2 separate regions of the Homo sapiens genome follow, and region 1 is linked to region 2. Evidence: promoter capture Hi-C in 16 types of primary human blood cells and fetal thymus (Javierre and others, 2016). All regions are on one chromosome and are shown on one strand. Each heading gives the region's core, a stretch centred on a gene start or on the middle of the fragment in contact. The rest is flanking DNA. Distances are from core to core; before and after follow the strand shown.

Region 1 (4,672 bases), core at 102-2,601, 2.1 Mb after region 2:
GCCGTCTCTTGGCTGTTCCATCCATTCTGTCACACAAGCCAAACAGGCGCTAGGTCCCTTTCCCCGTCTCCTCCAACCAGGGCTCAGTAAACAAGGTCTGAGCCCGAGCCTCCAAGTGACCTGACAGCCAGGTCTGTAAGATCACCCTTGAGGAGCTCAGCCAGGCTGAGGGGTAGGGGAATGGGGGCATCAGTGTTTATGAACCTTGAGATCAGCGTTAGGACTCTCCCTCAGGAGAATCTGATGGCTCCAAGTTTAACCCAGTTTCTGTCTTCTCCCCTGTCCTTTTCCTCTAACCCCGCTCCCCTCCTAGTTGTGTGTGTCTGGAGTGTGTGCATTCAGTTATATAACCGCTTTGGTCTCTTCTTGTCCCCAGATTGCTCTTCTAGACATCGATATATGTGGGCCATCGATTCCCAAGATAATGGGATTGGAAGGAGAGCAGGTAATAGCCGGTTACAGAACTCAGGAAATTATTCTCTTAAGGCAAACTCTGTAGCACTGAACTGTCAAACCTCAACAAAGAGGCATGCGGAGCCCATAAATGTTTTTTTGTTGTTGTTTTGTTTTGTTGTTTTTGAGACAAGGTCTCACTCTTGTCGCCCGGGCTGGAGTGCAGTGGTGCAACCTCAGCTCACTGCAACCTCCACCTCCTGGGTTCAAGCGATTCTTGTGCTCAGCCTCCTGAGTAGCTGGGACTACAGTGGTGTGCCATCATGCCCAACTAATTTTTGTATTTTTGGTAGAGACCAGGTTTCACTACGTTGGCCAAGCTGGGCTCCACCTCCTGACCTCTAGTGATCACCTGCCTCAGCCTCCCAAAGTGCTAGGATTACAGGCGTGAGCCACCGCACCTGGCCTGTAAATGTTTATGTGGACATGAGGAGCTCATACATGCTCAGTAGTCCATCTGTCTACTTTTAACAACAACTGTGAGTCTTGGCGGGGGAGGGGCGGGATTGTATATGAAGTCTGTCTACACCATTGGAGAAGCATTGGTTTCGATGCCTCCTCAGAGGGGAAGGGAAACAGCCAGTGAAATGCAGAAGTAAGACACGGAAATTTAGCTCTGACTGGGAACATTAGACCAGGGCTTGCTATGGGTCTGTACCCTGGAAGCAAGGGAATATTTCTGCCCTTGTGGTCTCCCCTGGGGAACTGAGACTGCAGGGCGGGTGAGCGATGTGGGCTGGGGGCAGGGCTGTAGCAGTCTATGTAGTTGCTGGCCTCTTCTTGCTAGCAAGAAGCTCTCCAAGAGAGGATTCCCCCAAGGGCAGTGCATGGAAGCTGGGGCTGGGGGTGCTGGGATGTCCCGAGAGTCTCAAGATTGGTTCTTTCTTTAATTAGTGCCAGGAATGCATTAATCCTGTTTTGGGGATGCAGTGGTGAACAAGGTCCATGAAGACCCCTGTCTGGGTGGGAGAAGGCAGATGCTAGATAATGTGAAACCAACCCAGAGTGAGGGGATGGACAGTAGGGCAGAGTCAGAGGGGCTGAGGGGTGGTCAAAGGTGCCCTCACTGAGGGATAGCATTTGAGCAGAGGATGACAGGAGGGGAGAGCTGGGGGAAGGGCATTCTGGGCTAAGGGAGCAACTGCATGGGCCGCTGACACAAGGTGTCCTTGTGTCCTCAGTGGAGTGACCAGAGGGGCTGGAGGGTGGCCCGAAGCAGATGGGGCCGGCCTTGCAGGCACTTCTAAGGCCTTGGGGTTTGCTTCCGAGGGAGTAGGGAAGGAGAGCGATGTCACCCTGTGAGGCTTGGTCACATACCCCAATGGATTTGGTAGCACACGCCACAGTGAAGGTATAAGCTACTGTCATCACACGTAATTATTTCATGAAACAGAAAATTTTAAAATAAAAGAAAATAGAAGTTTCCCTATTTTCTTCTCCTGCACTATTGGATCATCCTGTTTACCCCTCTTTTAAGACAAATGGACTTAGCAAACGAGTGTAAATAGGAATGAATGGTTTTGTGGGGTTTATTTTATTTTATTTTATTTTATTTTATTTTATTTATTTTATTGAGACAGAGTTTCACTCTTGTTGCCCAGGCTGGAGTGCAGTGTCGCGATCTCGGCTCACCACAACCTCCGCCTCCCGGGCTCAAGCAGTTCTCCTGCCTCAGCCTCCTGAATAGCTGGCATTACAGACACACGCCACCACGTCCAGCTATTTTTTGTATTTTTAGTAGAGTTGGGGTTTCACCATGTTGACCAGGCTGGTCTCGAACTCCTGACCTCAGGTGATCCTCCCGCCTCAGCCTCCCGCAGTGTTTGGATTACAGGTGTGAGCCACTGTGCCTGGCTGGGTGTCTTTTAATAGAACTTCGAAGTCAGTCACAGAGGACCGCATGTTGTGTGATTCCACTTACATGAAATGTGCAGAATAGGTCAGTCCACAGTGAGAGAAAGTGGATTAGGGGTCCTGTAAGGCTGGGAGGATGTGAGACAGACTGTGGGGGGTGGTGACAGCTGAGGGGTATAGGGATTCTTCTTAAGAGTCAGGCAAATGTTCTAAAATTGTGGTGACTGGGTACAGTGGCTCACACCTGCAATCCCAACACTTTGGGAGGCCAAGGCGGGTGGATCACTTGAGGTCAGGAGTTTGAGACCAGGCTGGCCAACATGGTGAAACCCCGTCTCTACAAAAAATACAAAAATTAGCTGGGCATGGTGGCGGGCACCTATAATCTCAGCTACCTGGGAGGCTAAGGCAGGAGAATCACTTGAACCTGGGAGGTGGAGGTTGCAGTGAGTCAGGATCACGCCACTGCACTCCAGCCTGGTCGACAGGGCAAGACCCCATCTCAAAAATAAAAATAAAAAATAAAACTGTGGTGATGGCTGCATGCTTGTGACTGTACAGAAAGCCACTCATTCAATGGGTGAGTCATATTGTCTATGAATCATGTCTCAGTAAATCTGTTGAGAAAAGTAAGGCTTCATCAAGAAAATTAAACTTTCAGTGTGCGCTTTGTGTGCTGCTGGACACCTGCTGGGGGGAAGAGGTCTGAATCTTGTTGCCCCAGGAAGCTCCCCTTTGTGGCTGGAGCTGATTGGGGACAGGTTCTGAATCAGCTGTTTCGTGAGAGCTCATTCCCTTCACTCCTGTGCTTTTACAAAAGCCACCTCATTGCTCCACAGGTATCTGCATTTTCTCATCAGTCCCCAGCCGATTTTTATGACTCTTTTAAGATACCTTAGACACAACATCATATTTGAACTTGAGTAACTTTGGTTCCCTATCTAGACATCCAAGTAGAGTTTCCAAATAACCCAGCTTAGGGCACAAAGGGAGTTGAGTTGCATCTTTATTACCCACGCCCTAGCTGTTCACCTCCTTTTAGGAATTTCGTGGTACCATGTAAGACAATGAATTATATTTTAAAAAACCATCGTCTTACTTTGTACAATTTGTCTGTGCATGAAATGTGACCAGGGTACATGATTTCTACTAATGAACATCGGTGCTCATGTTCACACAGGTTCACCAGAGTGGCTCAGGCTGGTCTCCAGTGGTGAGTTTTCACCTCTTTGCCCTATTTTCACAGTAGTGTGTGGTTGTGTGTACATAATGGGTTTGTGGTTTGTTGGTCCATAGGTATTTATTAGGGTACTTTTCGAGGCACAGAGGATGTGATTAAAACCAGTGATTGGCAGGCTTTTTCTGTAAAGTGTGGGACGGTAAAGATTTTCAGCATGTGGGCCTACATTCCTTGCTGTTGTAGCACAAAAGTAGTAATATGTAACTGAACAACCAGGACAGTATTCCAATAAAAGTTTATTTACAAACACAGATGGTGGGCCAGATTTGGCCCTGAAGTCCATAGTTTGTAAATCTCTGGTTAAGAGAGTTAAGGAGGCAGGGTGCAGTGGCTCACACCTGTGATCCCAGCACTTTAGGAGGCCAAGCCAGGCAGATCACTTGAGGCCAGGAGTTCGAGACCAGCCTGGCCAACATGGCGAAATCCCATCTCTACTAAAGATACAAAAATTAGCCGAGCATGGTGGCACGCGCCTGTAACACTGGCTACTCGGGAGGCTGAGGCAGGAGAATTGCTTGAACCCGGGAGGCAGAGGCTGCAGCAAGCTGAGATTGCACCATGCACTCCAGCCTGGGCAACAGAGCCAGACTTCATCTCAAAAAAATGAAAAATAAAAAAATAAAAGAGTTAAGGAGATGACATTTACTTATTTTAGCTGAGTTCCCTGTCATTGCCGTCACTGCAGCCCATGGACATACAGTGCCTCTTTCAAATCCCCCAACATGGTACCCTTTTTTTTTTTTCCAAAAATGATTTAGGAGCAAAGAGTGAATATGCTCATAGGTCACATGGTAGTTTTGTCCTGAAAATGTTTTTTTCAGTCAGAGCTCAAACAGAAGACCTGGGGGAGGGCCTCACTGTGTGGTTTTGAGTAAAGCGTGTCTTGCCCTCACCCTGTTCCCTCTGCAGTACGTGGAAGACAACCTGGGGGTGATGTCAGTGGGCTTCCTGCTCAGCAGTCCTGATGATGCTGTTATCTGGAGGGGACCCAAGAAAAACGGTTTGCCACTCTGCCTTTTTTTGTCTCTCACATTCTTCCACGAGCGTTGTGGCTCTTGGCTTTATCTGCTCCCTGTCCTGCCAGTCTCAGCCTGCTGGACTTCACAGTATATTATTTTTAACCAT
Region 2 (4,797 bases), core at 2,182-4,681:
AAAACATATAATTGTGAGGGTTTTTTTATTTTACATAATTGATCTTATACAGTATGAATGGCACTGTAACTTATTTTGTTTTTTGTTTTTCATCTACCAATGTGACGTGGTGAAGTGAGTAAAACTGGTGGGTTCTTTAAAATATAACAGACACTGTCAGATTATCTCAAGAAATGGAAGGGAGTTATTGTCTGGAACTCTCCACGGGTGATATGCCACTCATTCTCACAACACGCCAAGAAAGGTATTATCAGTATTTGAGCCACTAGGAAATTAAGTTTCATAGAAGTAAAGCAATTGCCCAAGTACCAAGGATATGAAAAGCTCTTCAAAATTAGGTAGTGAATGGATGAATATAATTAATCAGTGGCCGAGCTGGGGATTTGAACTCAGCTCTGTGCTCTTGAAGGTCAACCTCCTGCCTCTGCACACAGAACCAGGAACCAGAGCGCAGACTGCTGTGCATTCAAAGCAGCTGCCGTGATATGCTGATGGGAGGCGGGGGCAGAATTATCATCACCCACTTTCAGCAGTCCTGGAGGACAAGCTCTCTCTCCAGGAGGACAAAATTTTCTGGGGCTGACTGGGAAAACACATCAAGCATTTGGTAAATGCACGACCTTTGGAGAAAGGGCTGTTCTGAATAACCCAGCTAATAATAATCACCCGACAGCAATTTCCTGCAAGCTGGTTTCTTAATACACATCTGGCAGTTCATCCGCCTTCCCTCTGCTGCAGACATGGTTTGTCATTAGTCCAGGTGGTGGGAGTGATGGACACTCCAGCGTGTGTGAGCATGCACCTTAACCCTTGCTTCGCCAAGTCTGGGGGAGACTCTCAAAGCAAAAGACCTGCCTGGGACACTAGGGAGGGCATTTAACCCTAAGGCTCCACCCAGCAGACTCACTGGGACATTTTGAAAATGTGAGTCTGAGGCCAAGTGTGGTGGCTCATGCCTGTAATCCCAGCACTTTGGGAGGCCAAGGCGGGCAGATCACGTGAGGTCAGGAGTTTGAGACCAGCCTGGCCAACATGGTGAAACCCCGTCTCTACTAAAAATACAAAAATTAGCTGGATGTGGTGGCACACGCCTGTAATCCCAGCTACTCAGGAGACTGAGGCAGGAGAATTGCTTGATCCAGGGAGGCAGAGGTTGCAGTGAGCTGAGATGGCGTCACTGCACTCCAGCCTGGTCGACAAATGGAGACTCTGTCAAAAAGAAAAAAGAAAAGAAAAGAAAACGTGAGTCTGCGTCTCACTGGCTAGGTAACACTGAGCAAGGCACTTCACCTCTCTGAGCTTCGGAATGGGTGTGAGAATGAAACAAAACCACAAGATGAAGGGGCCAGCAGTGTGCCTTGTTTATAACTGAGGCTCCGGAACTGAGGGCCCCCTCCCGCACTCCCCCAGCTACCATCTCTTTGCAGCCCTGCCAAGAAGGGCTGGCTTTCTTTCCCCTTACCTGGTGACCTATTACTGTGTTGCAAACCACCTCAAAATTTGTGGCAGAAATGATAACCCTTTTGGGGCCATCTGGGCTGCTATAACAGAATACCATACATGGGGTGGCTGATAAACACATTCATTTCTCATGGTTCTAGGGGCTGGAAAGTCCAAAATCAAGGCACTGGCAGATTCTGTGTCCAATTCTTGGTCATAGATGGCTGTCTTTTTGCCGTGTCCTCACATGACAGAAGAAGTGAGGCAGCTCTTTGGGGCCTCTTTTGTAGGGGCACTAATCCCCTATAAAAGATTATAGGTTTGACAAGAGGAGGAATGTGATCTTTTGATTTTTAAGGGTCATTCCCCCGGTTTAAATTTGAAGACAAAACTCCCAAGGGTGTGAACAATGCCTTCCTAGTGCCCTCCCCACCACTCAACATCCTCTGGGGATAACTAAGAGAACCCTCAGCGAACTAGAGAGAAAACTATGAATAGAATCTGGTCCCAAGACACCCAACTGGCTCTCTGTGTACTGTCCTGGGGGATTTCAGGAAACATAATCTGTTTCTTAAAAAAAAAAAAAAAAAAAATTCTTATTTGTGTCGCTTAGTCACCCTATCAACTCTCCACGTTTTATCATCAGTAACCATGAAATTGATGTTGATTTAATTCTATTTTGAAAAGAGAAAAAAAAGTAATTTAGACAAAGGTTGCCAGCTGAGGCCATGTGTGTGCGTGTGTGTATATGTGAACACACAGGGATATAGATTTTACATATGTGGACTTTACATATGTTCCTGTGTGTATATTTGTATGTTCACTGACATGTCTGAGAGTGAGCACCACTGTGTGTGTCTGGGCATGTCTGTGAACACGTCAGTGTGGTGTATATCCCTGGCAGCTCCCCATCTCACGCACAGTAAAATCCAAAGTTCTTAGAATGTCACAAAAGTTCTAACCCTGGCTACCTATGTATCCTCGTTTCCTGCGGCCCATCCCCTGGCTTACTCCATTGTGGCCAGGCTGACTTCCATGATGTCACTGAATATATAGATTGAGAAAAGGGCCAATATTATTGACTGTACTTTTTCTAAAAATGCAGTGACTCAGGCAAGAGACGTGAGAATCTGTGGTCTATCCTGCTCATCCTCTTCAGGGGATTCTTCTGAGGGCTGTGCTCAGTCACGGACTCAGAGGCTTTCTGAAATTCTGCAGGCAAGAAAAAACGAGCAAACATGGAGTCTTATGTTTGCCACTCTGTCTCACCCCCTTGGTGTTGGAAACTTGATGAGCATACGAATTAACGAAATCACTACCACCTAATGAAATCACTACCACCTATTAATAATAACAAGTACTGGCTGGGCGTGGTGGCTCATGCCTGTAATTTATGAGCTTTAGGAGGCCGAAGCAGGAGGACTGCTTGAAGCCAGGAGTTTGAGACCAGCCTGGGCAACACAACAAGATACAGTCTGTACAAAAAAAAAAAAAAATGGTGCCACGCAACTGTAGTCCCAGCTACTAGAGAGGCTGAAACAGGATTCCTTAAGCCCAGGAGTTCAAGGCTGCAGTGAGCTAAAATTGCGCCGCTGCACTCCAGCCTGGGTGACAGAGCAAGACCATCTCAAATAAACAAACAAACAAACAAACGAGTACTAAGAGCATGGATGACGGTAACACCCGTGATAATAAATACAGTAGCATGCTGGTTAAATAGCACCGGCTCTGATCCCACACCCCGGGTTCGAATCCAGGCTTTACCACTTAGTAGCTGGGAGAGTTATTTAACTCCTATTTAAGTCTTTTAGAGGAATGAGTTTAGCCACCTAGGCGGGTCCCCCCAGCAAACACGCCTCGCCCGCGACCAGAGCGAAGGCTACAGGTGCCCGCCGGCAACCCTCGGACGCATGCGCGGCCCGGGCAGGTAGGTGGAGCCACGGTGCGGGGCAGTCGGATGGTCGCACGCGGGGGCGGGGCCGCGCCTGCGCAGACCGCCTGTTATGGCGGCCGCCTAAGTCCCACAGAGACGGGAGTCGGGTGGGATCCCAGGCTGGGCCCCGCGGCGGGTAAGTGCCTGGGAGAGGCGGCGGGATAGGGTAGGGTGCAGGGAACCTCCTGGCGCCGAGCCTGACTTTGAAATCCGAGCTCCCACAGATCGGAGGCCCAGATCCCTAAGGCCCGACCCCACTCTTAGCGTCAGTTTCCCCTTCTCAACACGGGTGTTGGGGAAAGAAGTCCACGTCCTCACCTGGGTTTCCATCCTGGGTCCAGGCACCTCTCCTTCGGTTCTAGATTAGGAAGGGAGGGCAGTGCCCGACCTGTGACTGTTTTTTGAGAGGGCAATAGTTAACCCACAAGGGTGGCGTCAGGAAGGCGACAAGACAAAGAGAACGAGTAGCCCCACGGGGGACGTCCCCGGAGCCCCTCACTACCACTCTACGCACCGTGGCCAGGCCACGTCTTTCCTGCCCCCAGCCTGGGCCTTCACACCCTGCCCTCCCCAGCTCCTGGCCTAAATCGTCATGGGATCGCGCCAAATTATTGATTGTTGAGTGAGTTGCAGTTATCAGAAAGAAAGATGAGGAGGGAAGTTATTTCAACACCGTGATCCCAGCACACTGCTTATTTGGGACAACTGACTGGGGACCTATAGGAGAAGAAAGCTGGTAGCGTCTCAGTCTAGCCCCCACAGCCTTAGAAGAGCCAAGAACACGTTAGCTCCTGCTGCAGGGATGAGCCTGCAGCCCTATGGAGAGGTGGTGGGGCAGGTCCCCATCTGCAACCTGGGTCTCCTTTCTCAGCTCTGCCCAGTAAAGAGAGGAGCCCGAAGCCCATACAGACCCTGCATTTCCGGAAAGAGACTTTTCCTGACTAGAGAAACTGTTACCTTTTTTCTTTCTTCCCAGCATTCACTTTAATCATTATTATATTACTATAATGATAGTATTTACTATTGTTGCTTATTGAACGTTTACTATATGTCGTAAGCCCGAAAAGTGGTAATTGTCTCATATACTCCTCTGAGTATATGAGGGCCTGAGATAGGTTCAAGAGGGCCTCCTTATTCCCAGATAGCTGATTCTAGGGAAAGCCACTTAAAGGGAATCTCCTTCATCTGGAACTTACATTGCAGCGTACATTTCTTGGGAAGCCTGGTTGGGTTGAATTTAAAAATGGAAAATTCAACTAGAGATTAAGAATTTGAGTTTTTTTGTGTGTGTCTATACTTAAAATTTGGTGTGTAATATTATGCTCACTTTTGGAAAAAGCAAAGAACATTGATTTTTCTGGGATGTAAGTTTTCCAACAAAATTGCGCTATAGGCCATGCCTGGTGGCTCACACCTATAATCCC

Evidence for each region. The method cuts DNA at HindIII sites, captures the fragments that hold promoters and counts their contacts. A CHiCAGO score of 5 or more calls a contact.
Region 1: a contact is called between a fragment that was not itself captured here and the fragment with the promoter of METTL22 in region 2, in 1 of 17 cell types (non-activated CD4 T cells). The highest score is 6.9, in non-activated CD4 T cells.

What each region holds. Positions count from the first base shown.
Region 1 is chr16:10,752,234-10,756,905 of GRCh38, forward strand. It overlaps NUBP1 (NUBP iron-sulfur cluster assembly factor 1, cytosolic), which reads left to right. Exons shown (of 11, transcript NM_002484.4): 4 at 377-445; 5 at 3,488-3,520; 6 at 4,457-4,547. Among named protein-coding and RNA genes, the nearest start is that of NUBP1, 11 kb to the left of the region's middle. The HindIII fragment of the contact is 7,689 bases long and covers 1-4,672 here.
Region 2 is chr16:8,618,267-8,623,063 of GRCh38, forward strand. METTL22 (methyltransferase 22, Kin17 lysine) reads left to right here and starts at 3,432. Exons shown (of 11, transcript NM_024109.4): 1 at 3,432-3,509. The HindIII fragment of the contact is 6,720 bases long and covers 1-4,797 here.